2 separate regions of the Homo sapiens genome follow, and region 1 is linked to region 2. The links are contacts of gene promoters, found by promoter capture Hi-C in human tissues and cell types (Jung and others, 2019). All regions are on one chromosome and are shown on one strand. Each heading gives the region's core, a stretch centred on a gene start or on the middle of the fragment in contact. The rest is flanking DNA. Distances are from core to core; before and after follow the strand shown.

Region 1 (4,588 bases), core at 932-3,431, 500 kb after region 2:
AGTATGAGACCAGCCTGGCCAACATAGTGAAACCCCGTCTCTCCTAAAAAACAAAAAATTTGCTGGATGTGGTGGCGCGGGCCTGTAGTCCCAGCTACTCAGGAAGCTGAGGCAGAAGAATCGCTTGAATCCGGGAGGTGGAGGTTGCAGTGAGCCGAGATTGCGCCACTGCACTCCAGCATGGGCGACAGAGTGAGACTCCGTCTCAAAAACAAAACAAACAAACACCAAACAAACACACAAAACAAAAAAAACCCTGCCATTGGCTAGAGGCAGTTGAGTGTTCAAAATGGGGAAAAACAACCACCAAAAGCCAACAGGAACTCTGAAGAGGGAAAAAAAAAATGGATAAGGAACAAGTCTTGTCCCTTCCGGTCCTGAGTGGGTGGGGCTTATGTTCATGCTGAAGTTCAGGGGGCTCCTTCTCAAGTCCTTCTTTCTAGTCTTGCCCTGTGAAGCTGTAAGTAGAATCAGTATTCCAAAGTCCTTTTCTGGACTGAGGAGAGAGGCCACATGTTCACCCCTCAGGCTCAGACACCAGCAACAGTGGTAACCAGGGTGGTCCTGAAAATTCCGTAGGCAAATGGAACTGAAACTGCAGATGTCACTGGAAGCATTAATAAAACACACACACACACACACACACACACACACACACACACACACACAGAAACAGGAGAGGACGCAGACAGGGACAATAGGAGTAATGGTATTTCACAGGGGATTTAAAACTATAGAAATGAGGCCAGGTGTGGTGGCTCACGCTTGTAATCCCAGCATTTTGGGAGGCCGAGGCAGGTGGATCACCTGAGGTTAGGAGTTTGAGACCAGCCTGACCAACATGGTGAAACCCCGTCTCTACTAAAAATACAAATACAAAATACAAAATACTAAAAATACAAAAAAGTAGCTGGGCGTGGTGGCACACATCTGTAATCCCAGCTACTTGGGAGGCTGAGGCAGGAGAATCATTTGAACCCAGAAGGCGGAGATTGCAGTGAGCCGAGATAGTGCCACTGCACTCCAGCCTGGGCAACAAGAGCAAAACTCCATCTCAAAAAACAAAACAAAACAAAAACTATAGAAATGCCGAAACACCAGTGCCACAGATGACCAAGTCTGTGTTGAACATTACTGACATCTTAAGATGACACAACACTGAAGTCACACTCAGCTATCTCAGTGAATGCAATGGAAACTGAGGTGCACAACACAAAGTTTATTCAAATCAGAAAACAGATAAGCTTCATGACAGGTGGTGATGTTATAAAAGGTAATCTATATCAAGGGTTCAGTACAAATTAGTCTCGGAGCCTGATACAATATGCAATTTATTCTAAAGTACTGTATCGTCAGTGTGATATTTTCCAAGGTAAGTCTGAATCGTGAGTGGTCAGCACACATGGTGGCTGCTATCCGATAGGGCAATTCAACAGACACTGCTAATTAGCATACTATATATTTAAAAATGGACTTTTATGGGGAAACTAGTGTCTTGTTAATTGTCATGAAAGGTTCTCGTGGGCAAAATTAAATGGATTCAAGGCTGGCCAGAATAGCTTTCATGACTAGGGGGTAAGAATCCATGAACTCTCCTTCAGTCCCTAGCGACAGTGGCTGAGGCCTGTGTCTGTTGGTCCAGTCCACTTGCCAATACAGGAGTATTATAGAATCTTACCCCAGGAATATTGCTGCATCTACCTCAAGAAAACCTTATATACAGGGTGTGGTCTCCTTATATACAAGGAGAGAGAGCTGGGACTCCATCCAGCTTACAGAAGAGGATGCTTCTGGGCTGGCTTCACTATTAAATGAATATGGATCTCTTATGTGTGAGGCAGATTCCAAATGCTGTCAGTCTAATTTGGTAGATTTAAGGGAGCAGCTCACTCACCAGCTCTGATTGGTCACGTGACTGACCAAACGCAACCGGCTTGATGACCTTTGAAAACGTTTCAATTGTGTAAGGGAGAAAGGCTCTTTTAGAAAATTCTTACAGGGGAAGTCTGTAAAAATCGCAGTTGGTAAATAATGTTTAGACAAAGCTTCGTACCTACTGGGAACTCAAAAAGTATGTATGAATGAGAGAGCAGCGAACTGATGGTTTCTATAGACAGAGGAGCCAACATTCTACAGGCTACATGCACTGTCTGCCAAGGACACAGTCAGATGCTAGGTTCCCTGTGGTTAGTAAAGGCCTCCTTGAAGAGAAACATCATTATCCAGGCCTGTGGAAAGCAGCCCCAGGCTGTGCACATGCGGCCCACATGGGTTTTCTTTCTTTTTTTTTTGTTTTGAGGAGAGTCTCACTGTGTCGCCCAGGCTGGAGTGCAGTGGCGCAATCTCGGCTCACTGCAACCTCCGCCTCCCGGGTTCAAGCAATTCTCTGCCTCAGCCTCCCGAGTAGCAGGAATTACAGGCATCTGCCACCAAGCCCAGCTAATTTTCGTATTTTTAGTAGAGATGGGGTTTCACCATCTTGGCCAGGCTGGTCCTGAACTAACCTCGTGATCCACCCGCCTTGGCCTCCCAAAGTGCTGGGATTACAGGCGTGAGCCACCACACCCGGCCCCACATGGGTTTTCAAATCAGCCATGTGCAGCCCTCATCCATATCTGTGCACTATCTGTACAGCAAGTAAAGTTACCTGGGACAGTCAGACTTAAGGGTTCTTTTTAATTGATCTCTTTAGTTGCTGTAAAGTTAACTGACTTACTAAAGTTAACATGAGGACTTGAGAGCATTCTCCTTTGTGATTTGAGGAACCCATGTTATTAGGCATTACCCACCTAATAGCAACCGACTAAAATGTGACGTGGAGGTTCAGGATCAACTTCTCTGAGACGAATCGTCTTTCAAAACTTGAATTTGCTAACCAAGTTGAGGAAGTGGCAACAAACATCAAGTCACATTTTATTCGAGGTCTGCTGCAGGGTTCCTTAAATAACGAATGTATGCATTTATAGAACACTGACAGAAATGGGTTGAAAAACTACAGAAACCAAGAGGCAAGAGTACGAATTAGAAACAAACGTTGTGTAAGCACAGTTGAAGCCGATAAGCACAGGGAATTAGATTTTTATACTATTCAGAAAAACAGTCACTTGAATTTGGCTTTGGAATACCGTAATGACTGACTCAGACATAGCCATGTTTAATAGCACAGAATTTCATGACATCGTCACAACCTGAAAGTCTGCAGACTGCTGCTCCATCCTGCACTCTAACCCTAACCTCTACCCACTCCAGGCCAGGCATAGGGTTTCAATTACTGTTGAGGCTGAAATGAGATGAGATGAGAGGCTCCTCCCCAGCCTCTTCCCTTCCACCTGCCCACCCCCATCCCACTTCCGGTCTCAAGGAGAGAACTGTTTTAGTGTCTAGTTGAGCTTTAGAAAGAGCACAGATAACCGTAACTGTTTTCCAGCATGAACACCAACTTTCGCGTATAATTCTGGGATAATTTCGTACCTAGTGTTTTAATTTTTTTTTTTTTTGAGACAGAGTCTTGCACCGTCGCCCGGGCTGGAGTGCAATGGCGGCGTGATCTCAGCTCACTGCAACCTCTGCCTCCCAGGTTCAAGCGATTCTCCTGCCTCAGCCTCCCGAGTAGCTGGGATTACAGGTGCCTGCCACCATGCCCAGCTAACTTTTTGTATTTTTTAGTAGAGATGGGGTTTCACTATGCTGGCCAAAATGGTCTCAAACTCGACCTCGTGATCCACCCGCCTCGGCCTCGCAAAGTGCTGGGATTACAGGCGTGAGCCACCACGCTCAGCCGTGTTTTAATTTTTACTGCACATGAAACCAATATTGCATGTGCCCCTTAAACTGTGCATGCAAACTAAGAAACAGGCATGTCATATATAGTAAACACGGCTGCAGGGCTTCTCTACAAAACTGTTAAGAGCTTTTAGCACCCATTCCTCCATCACACTTAGTTTTTTACACATGCCTGTATCAGTAAGCCATATCAGACCCCACTTACAGTAGACTTAATATTGGTACTGAACACTGTTACAGGAATCCCATTCAAAAGATTCTTTTCTGCAGCCACCTGCTACCGTAACCTCTCTAGTATTCTCCTTCTACCCCCCAACCCACTTTGTCCTTAACTAGAGCTATGAACTATTGATATATGTGCTTACCCCAACATCCATGGAGTAAATATATAAAGCGTTAATATTTGCAGTGAGGAGCCTAGCTTTTTTCCTGGAAACTAAGGCTTGGACGTATCAAGAGAACTCTGAACCTGTTACCCGTTCTTTTAACTGTGGCCCACAGACCGGAAAAAAACACAAAAGCCTTGGTGACCTTTGAAAATCTGTCAGCATATTATTGAAATTTCTAATATTGAGAGGGAAAATGGGGGGTGGGGATAATGGGCTGGATTTTTTTTGTTACGTCTATTATTTCTAATAGTGTAATCTGCTATCCTACTTCATTTCTCTGGGGGCCACAGGGAGAGAAGTTTTCTCTTACTTTACCTGAGCCTAATTATAAGAATCCACTACTTTGTTAGTAGCAAACCTAGGTTCTACTTCTGTGGATTTTTTTTTTTTTAACAAAACAATGCAATATAAATACA
Region 2 (4,412 bases), core at 1,104-3,603:
CATGCCATTTTTTTTCCTTTGTAGTAGAAGTTAGAAAGCTTTTTTTTTTTTTTGAGATGGAGTCTTGCTCTTTCACCCTGGCTGGAGTACAGTGGCGCAATCTGGGATCACTGCAACCTCTGCCTCCCGGGTTCAACCGATTCTCCTGCCTCAGCCTCCCCAGTAGGTGGGATTACAGGCACGTGCCACCACACCCGGCTAATTTTTGTATTTTTAGTAAAGACGGGGTTTCACCGTATTGGTCAAGCTGGTCTCGAACTCCTGACTTTGTGATCCACCTGCCTCAGCCTCCCAAAGTGCTGGGATTACAGGTGTGAGCCACCGTGCCCGGCCTTTTTTTTTTTTTTTTTTTTTTGAGACAGAGTCTTACTCTGTCACCCAGGCTGGAGTGCAGTGGTTCGATCTTGGATCACTGCAACCTCCACCTCCCGGGTACAAGTGATTCTCCTGTCTCAGCCTTCTGAGTAGCTGGGATTATAGACGCCTGCCACCACACCCGGCTCATTTTTTTTGTATTTTTAGTAGAGACGGGGTTTTACCATGTTGGCGAGGCTGATTTCAAATTGCTGACCTTAAGTGATCCAACCGCCTCGGCCTCCCAAAGTGCTGGAATTACAGGCGTGAGCCACCGCGCCTGGCCTCAAAAAAAAAAATTTTTTTTTTCAGGACGGCGTCTTGCTCTGTCGCCCAGGCTGGAGGGCAGTGGTGCGATCTCGGCTCACTGCAAGCTCTACCTCCTGGGTTCACGCCATTCTCCTGCCTCAGCCTCTCGAGTAGCTGGGACTGCAGGCGCCTGCCACCACGCCCGGATAATTTTTTGTATTTTTAGTAGAGACGGGGTTTCACCGTGTTAGCCAGGATGGTCTCGATCTCCTGACCTCGTGATCCACTCGCCTCGTCCTCCCAAAGTGCTGGGATTACAGGCGTGAGCCACCGCGCCCGGCCAAAAAAATTTCTAATACGGCAAATATTGAAAGATATAATCCACATAAACAAAGCTTTTAGGGTCTTCTATAATTTCTAACACTGTAAATGGTTCCCAAGACCCAACTGTTTGAGAACCGCTTCTCTGGGATGCCTTCTTCTTTTCCTGCTGGCTAATCCCAGTGGAGAGATTTAGGTATTTAATTCTGCTCCAGACTCACCTCTGAGAACCTTCCCTGATGGGCCACACTCTACTCACTGCCCTTGCTCTGTATCCCCTCTTCAGTTATGTTGTTCCTGTTTCCCTGGCTGCTTTTAATTTTCTTTCTTTCTTTTCTTCCCGCCTTTTCTTTTCTTTCTCTTTCTTTTTCGTTTTTTGTTTTTTGAGACGGAGTCTCACTCTGTCGCCCAGGCTGGAGTGCAGTAGCGCGATCTTGGCTCACTGCAACCTCCGCCTCCTAGGTTCAAGCGATTCTCCTGCCTCAGCCTCCCGAGTAGCTGGGATTACAGGCGCACGCCACCATGCCCGGATTATTTTTGTATTTTTAGTACAGACGGGGTTTCACCATGTTGGCCAGGCTGGTCTTTAACTCCTGACTTCAAGTGATCCGCCCGCCTTGGCCTCTCAAAGTGCTGGGATTACAGGCTTGCTGCCGCACCCGGCTTGTTTTTTTTTTTTTTTTTTTTTGAGACGGGGTCTCACTGTGTCCCCCAGGCTGGAGTGCAGTGGTGCGATCACAGCTCCCTGCAGCCTCGAACTACTGGGCTCAAGCGAACCTCCCACCTCAGCCTCCCGAGTAGCTGAAACCACAGGAGCGCGCCACGACACACAGCTAACTTTTTTTTTAGTGTTTTTTCTTTTTTTGTTGTTGCCTTTTTTTTTTTTCTTTATCGATCCTCCCGCATTGGCCTTCCAAACTGTTGGGATTACAAGCGAGAGCAGTGCCCGGCCCCTACTGCTTTGAAACCTCGGTTCTTTGCAGGTCCTGGAAAAGAAAGTGAAGGGGTCGTGCAATGGCTCAAAACCCAGGCAACATTTCCAGGCGCGTCCTCAACTCGGCGTCACTCTGACAAAAAGTTTGCCCTTTGCGCCCGATCCCTCACACCAGAGAGCACCGCAGGGACGCAGGGACGGAGAGGACTAATGGGGTCGGGGAGGACCCAAGGAAGTTGGGGAACTCAGACTCTTTTCAGTGTTTAAAAAGCAGAGGCCCCCTCGGAAGGCATAACAGGCGAGTCTAACAATGCCCCTGGAGATCAACGGCACTAAGGGGTACCTTTGCCCCGCTCCAAGGCTCCTTGTTCCGCCCCCTGCCGCCAAGCAAGGAATCCGGCGCCGCCGGTCGTGGGTAGTATTTACGACAGTGCTGGCGCTTTGCGGCCGGCCGCACAGCCGCTGACGCGTCGGGAGGCGGAGCCTAGGGAAGCAAATTCTCCTGGCGGCCTCCGTTCAGACGCGGCAGCTGTGACCCACCTGCCTCCTCCGCAGAGCAATGGCGGTGTCTGCCGGGTCCGCGCGGACCTCGCCCAGCTCAGGTAGGCTTAGGACCCCGCCCTCCGGCGGAGAGTTCCTAGGAGCGCTGGTCTCAGAGGGGCGGGGGCGGGAGGACGCCCAGTGTCTCCCGGTGAGGCGGGGGGGGGGTCCTCTGTGGGGAAGGGGGCGTGCTGTGAGACATTTGCAGCCTGCGGCTTCTGAATGATGATGACATTCGGGAACACTGCGGTTAGGGGACTGTAGTCTGAGGGGTTCTGGGACATTAGGGGATCGTGGAGAGGGGGCTGCACTGCAGGGATGTTTCCTATAGTCAGATCATTGAGGCAACCTCATTGAGCCGACCCGGGTGGGCGGAAGCTCTGAGCTGTTGGTGCAGTGATTTCTTTGATTTGAGGTGGAGCCCACCCCCGCACACATATTTTCTCCATTTATTGATTGCAGATAAAGTACAGAAAGACAAGGCTGAACTGATCTCAGGGCCCAGGCAGGACAGCCGAATAGGGAAACTCTTGGGTTTTGAGTGGACAGATTTGTCCAGTTGGCGGAGGCTGGTGACCCTGCTGAATCGACCAACGGACCCTGCAAGCTTAGCTGTCTTTCGTTTTCTTTTTGGTGAGTCCAGTTTATGGGTGGGAGCAATTTGGTTGAGAGTGGAGAATGACAATCTCTATTTTTTGGTTGCAAGTAGACTTAGCTCCCTTTTCCTCAGAGCTGAAGACATTGGTATAAAAGAAGAGGTCTTTGCGAAGTTTAGGATTAAACCTGCTTTGTCTCCTACAGTTAGGATTTACTTGGTGGCCAGAAATGCTTTTTTTTTTTTCCTTAGACGGACTTTCGCTCTTGTTGCCCAAGCTGGAGTGCAATGGCGCTATCTCGGCTCACTGTAACCTCCGCCACCCGGGTTAAAGCGATTCTCCTCCCTCAGTCTCCCGAGTAGCTGGGATTACAGGCGCCCACCACCACACCCGGCTAATTTTTTATTTTTTTTGTATGTGTGTTTTTAGTAGAGACGGGGTTTCACCATGTTGGCCAGGCTGGTCTCAAACTCCTGACCTCAGGTGATCCGCCTGCCTCGGCCTCCCAAAGTGCTGGGATTACAGGTGTGAGCCACCGTACCCAGCTAGAAATGCTATATGATATGTAGAGGCGAGGCAGCAGTGACCCATTTTGCTTGTGGCATGAAGTTGCCCAGAAGACTCAGAGAAACAGAGCAGGGGGCCACAGGGACCATACCTTTTGGCTGTGACTCCCTAATCAAGAGCTTCTTAACTGAGGCCGCAGCATGGTGTGCTTGGAATGGTTTACAGATGTGCAGAGATATTAGTCCCCTTAGCCCAGTAGTTCTCAACTGGAGGGAGTTTTGCTCCCTGGGAGACATTTGGCAATGTTTAGAGACATTTTTAGTTGTCACAACTTGGGGGAGGAAGAATAGGTGGCTGCTGGCATCTCTATAGAGGTCAGGGAGTGCTCCTAAATGTCCTGTAGTGCATTGGATAATCCCCTCAATAAATAATTAACCAGCCCAAAATGTGACTAGTCCTGAAGTTGAGAAACCCTGCTTTATCTCAAGCTGGCTTCCTGATCTGAGTAGCCTCTTCTGTTTATTCCCAGGGTGTTGACGAAATGCAACTGTTTTTGGAGTGTGCCAGGAAGCAGAAAAGGTTGAGAAGCACTCCCAGAGCACTTTCTTTCTTTCTTTCTTTCTTTTTTTGAGACGGAGTTTCGATCTTGTTGCCCAGGCTGGAGTGCAATGGTGTGATCTCGGCTCACTGCAACCTCCGCCTCCCAGGTTCAAGTGATTCTCCTGCTTCAGCTTCCCGAGTAGCTGGGATTACAGGCATGCGCCACCACACCTGGCTAATTTTTTTGTATTTTAAGTAGAGACGGGGTTTTTCCATGTTGGTCAGGCTGGTTTCGAACTCCCAACCTCAGGTGATCTGCCCACCTCAGCCTCCTAAAGTGCTGGGATTACAGGCGTGAGCCACCGTGCCTG

Evidence for each region. Contacts are between HindIII fragments. The study calls those that stand out against the background at their distance.
Region 1: a fragment that was not itself captured here is called in contact with the fragment with the promoter of GGCX in region 2 in 1 of the 25 tissues and cell types used here (IMR-90 fibroblasts).

Annotation. Positions count from the first base shown.
Region 1 is chr2:85,056,089-85,060,676 of GRCh38, reverse strand. It overlaps KCMF1 (potassium channel modulatory factor 1), which reads right to left. Exons shown (of 7, transcript NM_020122.5): 7 at 1,205-4,588. Among named protein-coding and RNA genes, the nearest start is that of LINC01964, 9.0 kb to the left of the region's middle. The HindIII fragment of the contact is 4,482 bases long and covers 1-4,422 here.
Region 2 is chr2:85,559,434-85,563,845 of GRCh38, reverse strand. GGCX (gamma-glutamyl carboxylase) reads left to right here and starts at 2,353. Exons shown (of 15, transcript NM_000821.7): 1 at 2,353-2,460; 2 at 2,861-3,031. The coding sequence starts at 2,418. RefSeq lists an enhancer at 2,150-2,379. The HindIII fragment of the contact is 7,250 bases long and covers 519-4,412 here.